3 separate regions of the Homo sapiens genome follow, and regions 1 and 3 are each linked to region 2. The links are contacts of gene promoters, found by promoter capture Hi-C in human tissues and cell types (Jung and others, 2019). All regions are on one chromosome and are shown on one strand. The core of a region is centred on a gene start or on the middle of the fragment in contact, and the rest is flanking DNA. Distances in the headings are between cores, read along the strand shown.

Region 1 (4,976 bases), core at 1,699-4,198, 100 kb after region 2:
TAATGTTATCCTCATTTTACAATTAGTCGTAAGATCCTAGGGAGAAGGTAGATTAAATTCAGGACCACGCAACTGGTAAGGAGGAGAGCCAGATCTGTATGTGGCTCAGAAGTCTACGCTTTTAAGGAAGTGACACACCCGCCTCAGCAGTCAGCCTGAAAGCCTAGTGTGCCAGGTACTCAGCCACATCCTCAGCACCATTAGTACTTGGTAACATTTCCTGAGTGCTTATAAGTGGCTAGACAGTGCACTGAGTGTTCCATGTGTTTATTAATTTAATGCTCACAACAACGCTGTGAAACGTGTGCTCTTTTCCCCATCTTATAGGTGAGAAAAGCGTGGCTAAGAGGTAAAATGTAACTTGCTGAAGTTACACAGTGAGGGTATGATGGAGTCAGAACCTGAGCCCAGGCGGTTCCATTTAAGTCTTCTTTTGTCTTTATACTAAGAGCAAGTGATTAAACAATGACGGAGTCTTGGCTTTTACTCTAAGGGAACAGTGTAATGAAGGGAGAGATTCATATGGATAGACAAAGTACTAAGATTATCAGTCCTCTTCGAAGTTAAAGTAGTAGATACTTTAGTAATCATAGAAGACGTGCTGGCAGATGTGGAAGGAATGCCGGGAAGAAGGAATCCAGAGAGGGCTAGCTTGGGAAGTCTTTCAGCTTCCTTGAGGTGTGGTGGGAGTCCGGTCAAGCTTTGGGGTCTGGTTGAATTAGAAAATGGTGGCAAAGAGCACTCTAGGGAAGGAGGACTGGAGACAAGTGCTTGGAGTGAGGAGTATATGAGACGCTCAGAGAATATTTGATGGGTGAATACACTCACGAGAGAGGGAAGAGTTGAAACCTGGGCCATTGAGCCATGTTGGAGTCATTGATAGAAACAGGATGCTTACAAGGAGCACCTAGTTGGAGAGCAGCTCGTCAAACGCCTGTCACCCAGCAGGTAGATGACAGCCTTACTTCAGCAATTGGTGTTCTTCACCTGTGTTTCATTATCAGACCCCTGCCCAGGAGAAAAGTTAAATTTAAATTCTACCCAGCCTGAGAAATTAAATACTAAGGAATAAGATTTTGTAGGGTAGGATTGAGCTTTGGAGGGCTACCGGCCATTGTAGTGTCTAAGATGCTCCCCTCCCCCTGCCTCCAAGAACCAGTTTCCACCCCTTTGGAAGTGATATCACCCCTGTTTAGAGTGCATATTTTACATGGAAATTTCTTATGGACAATAGGAGAGAAGAGACTGGATATCGGATTAGATCATATTTAGACATGTAGATTTGAGATTTTATCAGCTCAGTGCTTAGGAAAAATACAGAAAATCATGGAGACTAAATAAATTACATGCAAATTTAAAACATCTAAGGGTTAAAAAATAGAAAGCAATTAGTGAAAGATACTTTCAGCAGTCATGAGATAAATGATAAAGATTAAAAACTTTATTATAGAATGATTTTATTTAATATATTTAGGAAAAAACAGTTTTCAGGTTGATAAATGGGCTAAGGATTAGAACAAAAAATTCACAAAAGAAGAAATATGCCGATAGTAATCAAATAAATGTAATATAAAAGAAGGTAACAGAAGGTAACACTTTTTGCCAAAACATTGCTAGTAAGAATGCAGTGAAACTGCCATTTTTATATATTGTTGATGGCTTTGGAAATAGTACCACCTTTATGGAACTTACTTACCAACATGCTTTATTCCATTGGATCTAAGATACCATCATGTGTAAGAAACATCGTTATTTTATGTGTCACCAAAGAAAAAAAATGCTGCCAGTTATCATTGTAAAATGCTGTCCTAATTTCAGTGAATTAAAGTTAGAAAAAGAGCGAGTCTTAAAATTGATGAGATGTGATATGTCATTAACCATAAAAATAACATTAGCCTTTTGCACAACAATTTGGAATGTATCCTATGGACATCATCTAATAGTGGGGAAGCTTTATTCATGGAAGATGTTAGCTGTAGCAATAGAAACACCAGTTAAAATGGAACATTTGAAAAATTTGAAGAATTACTTCAATTTTCAAACACTAGCTCATAACCACAGAAGTAACGTTGTATACTATCTCCAGTTTGTGTTTTATAGAAAGAACATTGTTGCCATATGACACTCTTTTACAAAGGAGTTCTGAGGTCACTGACCAGCCTGCAGAGCAGCACTCTTAGGTTCTGGTGCCCAGCCATGGTCCAGTCATCTGTGGCTTAGGGGAGGTTGGAGGGGTCCCAGGTTCAAGGAGCAGACCAGCATTGTTGTCAGCAGCAGTTGTGGGGAGTGGGACCTCCTTAGATGGTGCTGGGGCAGGCATCCAGCATTGGGAAGGGTAGGGCTGGAGCCATTTCAGGAGAGGGTTTCCAGGTGTCTTGAAGCAGCCTGGGGTGGTGCTGGGAGTGGATCCTGTGCATTAGAGCACACGGAGCCTAGGGCAGGCAAGGGTTTCACCCGCCTCTCTGTTGGCTGCCTATGTAGGTGACCCGGATCTGGTTCTGAGGTGCATTGTCTCCGGCTTCTTCGCCAATGCAGCGAGGTTTCATTCTACTGGAGCTTATAGGTAACATGATACTTGGTGAAGTCATTTGTTAAAGGAACAATCTTACAAATGACCCAAACCCCACAGAAAGCTGTGCAGAGATAGTAATTGCATAATTATTTGTAATTTCTACCATGTCTCCTTCCAAAACTGAGTTGAGGTTAGCGACATAGCTTTAAGCAAAATATCTTGACTTTCTAAAAATGATTCTCACATATTCAGCTCATCTATATGTTGTATGTTTTAGAAGGATGACAATTATACATCTTGAGGCTGGTAATATTTCAATTCTAATGACAGAATAATATGACCTGAAGAAACTATTAAAAATAATGTTTCTCAGAGAAGTTATTTTACAATTGGCTAGTTTATTATGTCTTTAGAGATCTGCACGACTGAAGTCCCCTCCCACCCTGGTATAGTGTGGCCACGTCTGGTGTCTTTGGAGGTAGCCAGGTGTTTCTCATGTGCTGGATGTGCCTCCTGCTACATAACCTGATTCTTCCAGTTCCATTTTCTAGGCATAGGAAATCACTCATTGATGCCTTCCTAATGGTCTTTACTATATTCAAATGCAGTGAAAACTAAGCATAGCTTAGGCATACTGTAGCCTGTCAGTATCATGATTCTCCAAACTAATCATTCCAGTGCTTTGAATTGTTACTTTTATTCTGTCTTTTCTGTCTTTGGCTCATTTTAGTTTCATAACCTCAGTGTAGCCTCCTAAAAGTGTAGCTATCATCATTTTCTGTTCTTTAATAAGAGAACACTCCAAAGAATTTCTCCCCAGCTCTTCTATGTATTATTTTGTCATTAATTTTTTTTCCCAGAGAAAATATTACTGCCCTGTTATCTTGAGGTCAGCCAAGATATCCCTTGTCCTGGGCTCCTGTTAATGAGTCCAGAGTTGCACTGAGCCTTTTTTAATTTTGACAGCCAGATCTGCTCCATCTAGTATCCTAGTAGCCGACTGTTGGAACTGCAGGATAGCACTTTACAATGATCTCTAGTATGTTCTCTTTGTTACTCCAGGCATGTTGTAGCCTGTCAGTATTGTGATTCATTTGCCCATTGTATGAGCTCACCTCCCCACCCTGAGTTGTCTGTATTTGAGGCAACTTGTCCATGTGGAGGCGACCCCCACGGTGGCCCGAGATCTTCCCTAAGGAGTGCTGCCAGCTTGTCATCTTGATTGCTCCTACTCTCCTGGAGAGTTAGCAATTTTGACTAGCGTTTGGAAAATTCTTTTATCAGTGTCCTTAGCAACAATGTGGGCTACCTAAGAGGTTCCAGGCTAATCATTCCTTTGAGACAACATTTAGTGTTGATCAGCTCACCACCCCCTGGTAGGACAGCCCAGGACCCCAGGACGCTGGCTTTATTACAATGCCGACGAGGCATTCCGTCACAGCACTTGAAGCACTTCCCCCAAGAAACAGATCATTCTACTGAGTTGGAATTGGAAGTACTATTTCAGAGAAATTAATAGTCCAGTATTGAGCTTTTTTTTTTTTTTTTGAGATGGAGTTTCGCTCTTGTTGCCCATGCTAGAGTGCAATGGGGTGATCTTGGCTCATCGCAACCTTTGCCTCCCAGTTTCAAGCGATTCTCCTGCCTCAGCCTCCGGAGTAGCTGGGATTACAGGCATGTGACACCACACCCAACTAATTTTGTATTTTTAGTAGAGACAGGGTTTCTCCATGTTGGCCAGGCTGGTCTTGAACTCCCGACCTCAAGTGATCTGCTCGCCTTGGCCTCCCAAAGTGCTGGGATTACAGGCATGAGCCACCATGCCTGGCTGTGAGCTTTCTTTTTTCATTATCGTTACGTCCCCCTATAGTCATTATCTTTAGTATTTAACTTTGCTTTTTAGATTATAGAAGAAATCACATGTATTATTTCCATTCCAAAGGAAATTGTTTTGAAAGAGCACCTGCAGAAGATACACATAAACATAGGCAGAGCATTTTATTCCTAAATGTTTTTTCTAAGTGTCCGCGTGTTGCTTTTCTCCTCTTCGCTTTTTCCACGTGATTTATTCTTGACTTCTGGGGTGGCAGCCAGGAGAGGGATCAAGAAAGGTTGCAAGAGAAGATGGAGATAATTGTTTTGCTTGTGACGAGTTCAGTCTGCATGCTTTTTTGGTAATATTAAAAATATCTGTGGGAAAGTCTTGCTATAAGTATTTAAAATGTGCTTCAGACAAAATTCTTCTATGTTCCAAGGACCATCCGTGATGACCATGAGCTGCACATACACCCTGCGTCAGTCCTCTATGCAGAGAAGCCGCCTCGCTGGTAAGCTCATCCTGCTGCTTAGCCTGTGCCTGCTTTGAACAGGGCCATGTTCTTGTTTTTCTCCTGTACATGTTTCTTGACATCGCCTCTAGAATTGCTGCTCTGGGCCGGGCGTGGTGGCTCACGCCTGTAATCCC
Region 2 (4,894 bases), core at 2,128-4,627:
GATTATTGCTGTGAGCTCACTTGAACAGTGCTGACTTGAATTCACAAAGAGGAGGTTCCTGGAATAGAGGGTGGGTGAGAGCTCCTAGTCTCTTCCCCCTTACCCCACCCCTTTCCCACAGAGGGCTTTCCCATGAGACCCCTGAAATAGAGGGAGCTCTGGGGGCTCAGACCTGGAGCAGATGTCTCCCCAGACTAGGAGATGGTGAAAACTGATGAATTCAAGAAAAGGTGGGTGGTTGGGAATGACCTTCATTCTGTCAAATAATCTCTTTGAAATTAACATGAGGCCGTATAGTAGCATATATTTATTCCATACATTTTCAAAGTTTTTCCTGATATTTATTTATTTATTTTTATTTTTTTAAGATGGAGCCTCACTCTTTCACCCAGTCTGGAGTGCAGTGGCGTGATCTCAGCTCACTGCAACCTCTGCCTCCCGGGTTCCAGCAATTCTCCTGCCTCAGCTTCCCAAGTAGCTGAGATTACAGGCGCTCGCCGTGATGTCCAGCTAATTTTTTGTATTTTTAGTGGAGATAGAGTTTCACCATGTTGGCCAGGCTGGTCTCCAACTCCTGACCTCAAGTGATCCTCCCGCCTTGAGCTCCCGAAGTGCTGGGATTATAGGCGTGAACCACCACGCCCCGCCTCTCATGACATTTATATGTAACAAGGGTGCCCCTCTCCTCTGTCCCATTCTTGGAGTGAACTGACATGTCCTGTCCTCTTCCCCCTGCCCCATTCCACTCTTTCCCCTCGTGTGCTTATTGTGGGGAAGTACGATACTATAAAGTACTTCACCTTATGACAGCAATACAGCAGCTAAGGCCCCGGCCATTCTCATTTTTTACCTCGAGCATTAAAGGCATAGAGAAGCTATGTGGTTGCACAGCCTCAGACCACAGTCCTTGGTCCTTGTCCCACACAGAACTTTGTTGGTGTTTTTCTTGAAAGAGGATGAAAAGGGTGTCGGATCACAAGGTCAGGAGTTCGAGACCAGCCTGGCCAACGTGATGAAACCCCATCTCTACTAAAGATGCAGAAAATTGGCCAGGTGTGGTGGCATGAGCCTGTAATCCCAGCTACTCAGGAGGCTGAGGCAGGATAATCGTTTGAACCCTGGAGGCGGAGGTTGCAGTGAGCCGAGATCACGCCATTGCACTCCAGCCTGGGTGACAGGGCAAGACTCCGTCTCAAAAAAAAAAAAAAAAAAAAAAAAAAGAAGGTGCTCTCTTGCAGCCTCCCGGACCCTGGATACCAGCGCAGGGACACATGGAAGTCCCCACACTTATTCTTGAGAAACTTCACAAAGGGATGGGGATGGGGAGAGGAGAGGTAGAGAGGGAGAGGCGTCTCAACAGCGGCAGGCATTCATCCATTTAAAAAGGTTATTGGTTGCTAAATAATAATGGTAACATCTCACATTTATGACCCACTTTTCATTTACATAAAAAAGATGACGACTGAAAATTGACTGTTGGATTTAGCTCTGTGGAACTCATGATGAACCTGACAAGAGGTTTTGGTAAAGCAGTGGGGGTTTTAGCCTGATTGAAGAGGGCTGGAAGGGAACTGGAGACAGCAAGTATAGACAACTGGTTTGAGGGTTTCTTTTCTTTTCTTTTCTTTCTTTCTTTTTCTGAGACAGGGTCTTACTCTGTCACCCAGGCTGGGGTGCAGTGGTGTGATCATAGTTCACTACAGCTGCAAACTCCTGGGCTCAAGTGATCTCTTGCCTCAGCCTTCCCACTGGCTGGGACCATCATGAGCACTGCCATGCACTAAAAGTTAGGCGCACCACCATGCCCAGCTAACTTTTGTATTTTTTTGTAAAGACAGGGTCTCACTATGCTGCCCAGGCTGGTCTCAAACTCCTGGGCTCAAGTGATCCTCTTCCCTTGGCCTCCCACAGTGCTGGGATTACAGGTGTAAGTCACCATGGCCAGCCACATCTGAGATTCTATGCTGCAAAAATAAGAAGTGAGATGGGGAGCTTTAGAGGAATGTAGGGTCAAGAGAGGGTTGTTTTAAGATGAAAAATATTTCAGCATGCTTGTAGGCTGATAGAAATGAATCGGTAAAGAGGGAAGCTGATGTTCCAGGAGAAAGAAGAAGATTGCTGGAGCGATGCTGGTGAGTAGTAGAGGGGCTGGAAATGCCCAGGCAGAGGGGTTGGGGTTGGATGGGCACAGGCACAGTTCATCAATGCCCAGTATACGGGCAGAGATGCAGACAGGAAGGTAGACTAGATGGCCGCACGTGGACGTTCCCTTCTTACTGTTTCTGTGTTCTTGCTGACATGGAAGACAAGCTGTCAGAGAGGAAAAGGTAGAGAGAATGAGGGAAATGCGGCCTACCAGGCAGTTTTTTTGTTTGTTTGCTTTTGTTTTGTTTTGTTTTGTTTTTAGATGGAGTTTCGATCTTGTCGCCCAGGCTGGAGTGCAGTGGTGCTATCTCGACTCACTGCAACATCCGCCTCCCGCGTTCAAGTGATTCTCCTGCCTCAGCCTCCCGAGTATCTGGGATTACAGGCGTACACCAAGACACCTGGCTAATTTTTGTATTTTTAGTAGAGACGGGGTTTCACCGTGTTGGTCAGGCTAGTCTCAAACGCCTGACCTTAGGTGATCCGCCCTCCTCGGCCTCCTAAAGTGCTGGGATTACAGGCGTGAGCCACCGCGCCCGGCCTCCTAGCAGGCAGTCTTACGGATTATGAATTTAAAACATGACCAGTCAGTAAGCATGGTTACGCTCTTTTTGTTTTTTCTTCAGCCCTGTAGGGCTGCCGGGGTGCAGGTGGAAAGTAGGGTATAACCACGGTTGGTTGGGGTTTTACAAGGCAAAAATCGATGAAATGAGAGAAGACTACCCGAGGGTGTAATCAAAGGAGCAGTCCTAATACGATGAGCCGGTATTCTTTGAATGAATGAATACATGGTTAAAGGCAGGTGATAAAGGCGATATGGTTGGCCATGCCAAAGCACTGAGAGCCTAGGAGCAGCGTGGCCAGAGTCTCCGGGAGTCGGCACCTGCCTCTCCTCGTTGTCTAGGCCTGACTGTCCCTGGCCTTGCACGGCCGCGCAGCGGGGCGACCGGCAGGGGGCGCGCTGGGATGGCCAGGAGCTCGGCTCTCCCCGCTCTGTCCCTGCTCTGCGGCCCGCCTCGCCCCTGCAAGTTTAAATTCCTCTTAGCAAGCCCAGCATCGCAGCCAATAACGCATCAGGGGGCGGAGCCGTAGAGGCTTGCGCCCCGCCTCGCTCCGCTATTGGAAGGAAAGCAGCCAATGGGAGAGCCGAGGCGGGGAGGTGCGGCCAATGGCGCGGGCCTGTTTGATTCAAAGGTTGCCTATAAAGCGGGACTGCACGCCGGTTTTTGTCCGAGGGCTGTCGAGTCCGAGCGCCGCCATGGCTCTGCTGTCCGAGGGCCTGGACGAGGTGCCCGCCGCCTGCCTGTCGCCGTGCGGGCCGCCCAACCCGACCGAGCTGTTCAGCGAGTCACGGCGCCTGGCTCTGGAGGAGCTGGTGGCGGGCGGCCCCGAAGCCTTCGCGGCCTTCCTGCGACGCGAGCGCCTGGCTCGTTTCCTGAACCCCGATGAGGTGCACGCCATTCTGCGCGCGGCGGAGAGGCCGGGAGAGGAGGGCGCGGCGGCGGCGGCGGCGGCCGAGGACTCGTTCGGCTCCTCGCACGACTGCTCTTCGGGCACCTACTTCCCCGAGCAGTCGGACCTGGAGCCACCGCTGTTGGAGCTTGGCTGGCCCGCCTTCTACCAGGGCGCCTACCGCGGCGCCACGCGTGTCGAGACGCACTTCCAGCCCCGCGGCGCTGGCGAAGGTGGCCCCTACGGCTGCAAGGACGCTCTGCGCCAGCAGCTCCGCTCGGCGCGAGAGGTGAGCGGCCCTCCAGGGCCCTGGGTCGCACGGGAGACCCCCTTCAAGAATGGGAAATTGAGGCCTGCTGGGAGTACGGGCCGGGGCCACTACCTCCTCTGCGCCCTACCGGAAGCGCGCGCGGGCTAGGTGGTCCCAGGGTCTCCGACTCACACCCCACTCTGCGTGTCTCCCCCGGATCCCCCGGGCCGCTCCTCGTGGCAGGGGATAGTGGGAAAGCCTCGGTTCCCAAGGATGCGAATTGTGCCCGGGTTCCATCTCCTAACGTTCATATCCCTGAAGGAGGGACCAGAAGTACTCTGAGTTCCAAATTTCAGTTAAAATCAAACTTGGAAAATTGCCTATTTCCCTGTCTGTCAGCCAACGCTAGATCCCACTTTCAGGAGCTTCTTAGGAGACTCATTACCAAAGAACTTACGCAGGGAAAGTTCCAGAAAGATGGTCTCCAGAGACAACTACGGGGCATTAGGAAGCAATTATTATTGCTAATTACTTTCATGCATCTTTTGCTGTAAAAAGCAGATAAACACGAGAGTGGCAAAGTGAGAGCCCTGCCGCTTTTTCTTTCTTGTCTTTTTTTTTTTTTTTTTTTTTTGAGACAGATTCTCTTTTGCCCAGGCTGGAGTGAAGTGGTGGGATCTCAGTTCACTGCAACCTCCGTCCCCCGGGTTCAAGTGACTCTCCTGCCTCAGCCTCCCAAGTAGCTGGGATTACCGGTGCCCGCCACCACGCCCGGCTAATTTTTGTATTTTTAGTAGAGACGGGGTTTCTCCATGTTGGCCAAGCTGGTCTCGAACTCCTGACCTCAGGTGATCCACCCGCCTCGGCCTCCCAAAGTGCTAGGATTACAGGCGTGAGCCACCGCACCCGGCCCCCTGCCGCTTTTTCTACTGCCAGAGACTGGAGGGGAAACTGGGGCAAGGGGTTTGTTTTCCATAGGCTGGGTCTGTGCCAGATTGCAGTGGTCTCCTAAAATGCAGATACATTTGCATTAGATCGGCTTCTGTA
Region 3 (4,480 bases), core at 620-3,119, 85 kb after region 2:
GTCCTCAGGAGAGCTTGCCTGTCATTGAACTTTTAGGAAACACCCACTTCCTGTGAGCTTTTCAGCAGGGTGGTCCTCTTATGTGTTAACTTTGTTTCTCCTTTGGTTAGTAGTGTGCTTGGAAAATGGGGTTATCCTATCAAGAAGCTGTACCCCAAATTCTCTTGAAACTAAAGGAAGTAGCTCATTTGGAACTTCCTGCTGTTGGCCGTCATCCAGAACCTTCTAGTTAGACCCAATTTGTATCAATTAGTCCACAGAATATTGGTTGTCTGTTTTCTCAAAGAAAACCTTTCTGAAGTTTTTCGGGGATAGTGGTATTTCTTCATGGCACTTTTTTTTTTTTCCTCTAGTTAACTAAAGCTTTATGATCTAAATGGAAGTTGGGTCACCCTTGTATTGTTTAAGAAGGGTGTACATCAGTTACAATGTTGACTGATGTGGGAGGTTTTGGTGGGTGGAGCATTCTCTATATAATCCTTAAGCTTTCTGAATATACATGAAAATGAGTTAATCTCTTCCTCTTTTTTCCCCACCCTTCCTGCCTAGCTTTTATAAAAAGGCCTTCTTCCAAAGTCTCTTCTCCTTCCCCCTCCCTTTCTGCCCTTCCTGTCTTGGGATCTCTGTGTCTTAGGATGCTTTTTCCTGTGTAAGGTCACCTCTTCTTCCTGGTAGGGCATGTAAACATTCATTTCTTGGTTTGGGGCAGCATTGGATTCTGGGAATGATATTGTGTACCTGGCTTGTTGATTTAAAAATTTGATTTGGACAATTTTTGCTCTTTATAAGATTTGGTCATTTGTTGTATTTTGGTGATTTATCTTGAAATTGTTCTTTGCTTGTATGTGAAGCTCTTGCTTCCTTGACTTATTCCAAACAGAGATGGTGGCAACTGGGAACTGATAGTGATTCAGCAAGTACTTGTTGGTTTGATTTAATGTTTTGCTGACAAAAAACATTAAAAAACAGAATTTTAGATAAAGTTTTATAAAGGTGTATTCAAATATATTTATCTAAGGCATTTTAAAAATAGAATGGTCTTTCCTAAGTATAAAAATAACTTTATATCATGGTATCATGTGCATCTGCTTCTAGAATCCTAGAGACCCTTGTTCAAGATAGAGAAGAAAATTTGTCCCTTGGCATAGTGATTGCATTTGATTGTGACATTTGGTCCCAAACAGTTCTGATTTCCTATCCTCAGAGGAAGCCTTTGACAAGTTGCCTCAGTCTACGGTTCCTGAGATGCAGCGTAGTAATTTGGCACCTGTCATCCTGCAGCTGAAAGCACTAGGAATTGACAATGTCCTCAGGTTCCACTTCATGTCGGTAAGTCCTGCCTGCTGTCTGGGGCCATAGGGAGGCTAGGGAGCTCACAGGGGGATGTCAGGACATTGTCGTAGGGCATGCCATCTTTCCTTTTTTTCCCTACTCAGGTCATGTGTTGTGTGTCTGCTTTGCAACCAGGCCCTGTGCAGGACGTAGGGGAAAACAGCCAGACAAGGTAGCCTCAATTCCTATTCTTACATAGTTCCTGTTCTTGTCTGCTGGGGAATAGAGACAAGTAAGTGGGTAATTACAGAGCAGTGTGCCCAGGGCTCTGAGAGACAAAGGAAGGGCCTCCCAGGTGAAACCTGAAACCCAAATAGAATCTCACCAGGTTAGGAGTGGAGAGTTCCAGGACAGCTAGTCTTTGTAGAGGCCTAGATGCAGGAGTACCATGATTGGGGGATCCTTCCTGCAGCTTTAGATAGAGCTGCAGGAAGACCCTTGTGCCTGATTGCTTCCTGAGATGATTTCTAGGAGTAGAATGACTGGGTCAAAGGGCCGTTGTCCTGTTTAGGGTCCTGTTACATGGCCAGATTGCTTTACCAATGTCAACTCTAGCAGTGCCTGAATGCCCACCTTGTGGTACTTCCATTGTGCCATGTTATCTTCTTTGGGTTTGCTGATTTGATTGGCCAGAGAGAGGAAATCACCTTTATTATAATTATTTTTAAATTTTTCATAAGATAGATTTTTATAAAAACATTTATTAGTCAGTTTTTATTTCTTCTGAGTTGTTAAGCTATTTATCTGTTAGAATTTGTGTCAGTTAGTGATTTTCAAGAGTCCTTTGAATATTAAAGACATTAATTTTTATAATATTTCTTACAAATATTTTCTATTTATATTTTACTGTTTTTTTTTTAATGTGTGGACATTCTAAACATATTCACAGTAATCTATTTTTGCCTTTATGATTTCTTTGGCTATTCTTTTTTTCTTTCTTTATTTTCTGAGACAGTCTCACTCTGTAGCCCAGGCTGGAGTGCAGTGGTGCCATCTTGGCTCACTGCAACCTCTGCCTCCCAGGCTCAAGTGATTCTTGTGCTTCAGCCTCTTGAGTGGCTGGGATTACAGGTGTGTGCCACCACGCCTGGCTAATTTTTTATATTTTTAGTAGAGACAAGGTTTTGCCTTGTTGACCAGGCTGGTCTCAAACTCCTGAGCAGGTCAGGTGATCCACCCCGTCTGGGCCTCCCGAAGTGCTAGGATTATAGGCGTGAGCCACCACCCCCGGCCTCTTTGGTTATTCTTGCCCTTATGAAGTACTTCTTATATTTGGGTCAGTTAATACATATTCTCTCATATTTTCTTCTAGAATTTTTATGATTTGAGAACTTTGTTTTTTCCCAACTGTATATGATATGACAAGTCTGGAAAGTCTGGATTCTTGGATAGTAAAGTCCCTAATGTCATATGTGATGGTAAACTAGGTGAATGAAAGAATAGAACATACAAATATCAACTCCCCCAAAGAAAATTGTGTACTTACCATAAGTATAGGGAAAATGGACCCTTTGATTATTGGTGTAGAGTAGAAGATATTATAAAGAAAAGATAAACAGGCTGAGCGTGGTGGCTTATGCCTGTAATCCCAGCACTTTGGGAGGCCGAGGCAGGTGGATCACTTGAGGTCCGGACTTCAAGACCAGCCTGGCCAACATGGTGAAACCCCGTCTCTACTAAAAATACAAAAATTAGCCAGGCATGGTGGCATGCGCCTGTAGTCCCAGCTACTTGGGAGGCTTGAGGCAGGAGAAACGCTTGAACCCGGGAGGTGGAGGTTGCAGTGAGCTGAGATTGTGCCACTGCACTCCAGCCTGGGCAATAGGGTGAGACTCTTTCTTAAAAAAAAAGAAAAGATAAACAGTATGTGCTGATTTGAAAGCTTATGAAAAGCCCCGCATGTAAAATTAAAGAAAAACATACAGTGACAGAAATGACAGATCAGTATCTCAAAAAATATGAAGAGTTTTTATATGCACATCATTTACAGTAAATATTCACTAAATAAAGCTAAAGGAAAAAAACAGCACAAATTCAAATTTCAACTATCATTAGGACATGTTGAGCTTCTCTAGGAGAGAGGTGACTGCACGTTGATATAGCTATAAAGGATGACTTTACACTAATTTTTTTTTTTTTTGAGACAGAGTCTCTCTCTGTCACCCAGGCTGGAGTGCAGTTGTGCGATCTCAGCTCATTGCAACCTCTGCCTCTTGGGTTCAAGTGATTCTCGTATCTCAGCCTCCCAAGTAGCTGGGACTACAGGAAAGAGCCACCATGCTCGGTTAATTTTTTGTATTTTTAGTAGAGACGGGGTTTTGCCATGTTGGCCAGGATGGTCTTGAACGCCTGACCTCAGGTGATCTGCCCACCTTGGCCTCCCAAAGTGCTGGGATTACAGGTGTGAGCCACTGTGCGCAGTTGACTTTACACTAATTAAATGATTGAGTATAAACAAAAATGGTGAAATCGAAAACTGCCACAATTTGGGAAAGTAAATTCCTCCCATGTTATACCGTTTCTGTCCCCATGGAGGACTTTCTGACAACATTTAATGAGCCGTAGAAATGTCTGCTATTTCTTCTCATAAAAATTTCTCCTGAAAAAATAATTCAGAAGAAGAAAAAAAGCTTACATATGTGATAATGCTTATAGCATTTATATTACATTTAAAAATATAAATAATGAAAATTATCGTAAAACTTTTGGACAGTTGAAAAATGAAAAAAAAAATACAAATTTATCTTCACATATTTCCTTCTGGTTATTATCCCCTGAAATTGTGGTTTTTATGATTGAAATTACAGAGTACATATAATTTTGTATATTTAGCAATGTTATTTACAATGGTGAAAAACTGGAACAATTTAATTGCCCAGCAATAAGAAAATTGACTTTTTTATGGAGTATGATTGTCATAGAGTATTATGCAGCCATCCCAAGTAGTTACTGTGAAGTTTGTATGGGTGCAAGAAACAATGAAAACAGAAAAACATGTAGTGAGAAGACCACACTAAAACTATACATAAACAGTAATTCCAGATATGTTAAAACAGTGTTTCTGTATTATCCCAAATCAGTTGAGGTCACAGAGAAATACTAGTGAATGTGATTAGATGAAAATACTATGGATAAGATTTTTGTGGAG

Evidence for each region. Contacts are between HindIII fragments. The study calls those that stand out against the background at their distance.
Region 1: a contact is called between a fragment that was not itself captured here and the fragment with the promoter of FAM83D in region 2, in 5 of the 25 tissues and cell types used here (adrenal gland, lymphoblastoid cells, neural progenitor cells and 2 more).
Region 3: a fragment that was not itself captured here is called in contact with the fragment with the promoter of FAM83D in region 2 in 3 of the 25 tissues and cell types used here (bladder, lymphoblastoid cells and stomach).

Annotation. Positions count from the first base shown.
Region 1 is chr20:39,025,937-39,030,912 of GRCh38, forward strand. DHX35 (DEAH-box helicase 35) reads left to right here. Exons shown (of 22, transcript NM_021931.4): 19 at 2,482-2,563; 20 at 4,768-4,839. Among named protein-coding and RNA genes, the nearest start is that of DHX35, 66 kb to the left of the region's middle. The HindIII fragment of the contact is 7,874 bases long and covers 1-4,976 here.
Region 2 is chr20:38,923,040-38,927,933 of GRCh38, forward strand. It overlaps FAM83D (family with sequence similarity 83 member D), which reads left to right and starts at 3,378. Exons shown (of 4, transcript NM_030919.3): 1 at 3,378-3,886. The coding sequence starts at 3,404. RefSeq lists a silencer at 2,996-3,355 and an enhancer at 3,466-3,565. The HindIII fragment of the contact is 31,187 bases long and covers 1-4,894 here.
Region 3 is chr20:39,009,076-39,013,555 of GRCh38, forward strand. DHX35 (DEAH-box helicase 35) reads left to right here. Exons shown (of 22, transcript NM_021931.4): 13 at 1,205-1,329. Among named protein-coding and RNA genes, the nearest start is that of DHX35, 49 kb to the left of the region's middle. The HindIII fragment of the contact is 3,437 bases long and covers 152-3,588 here.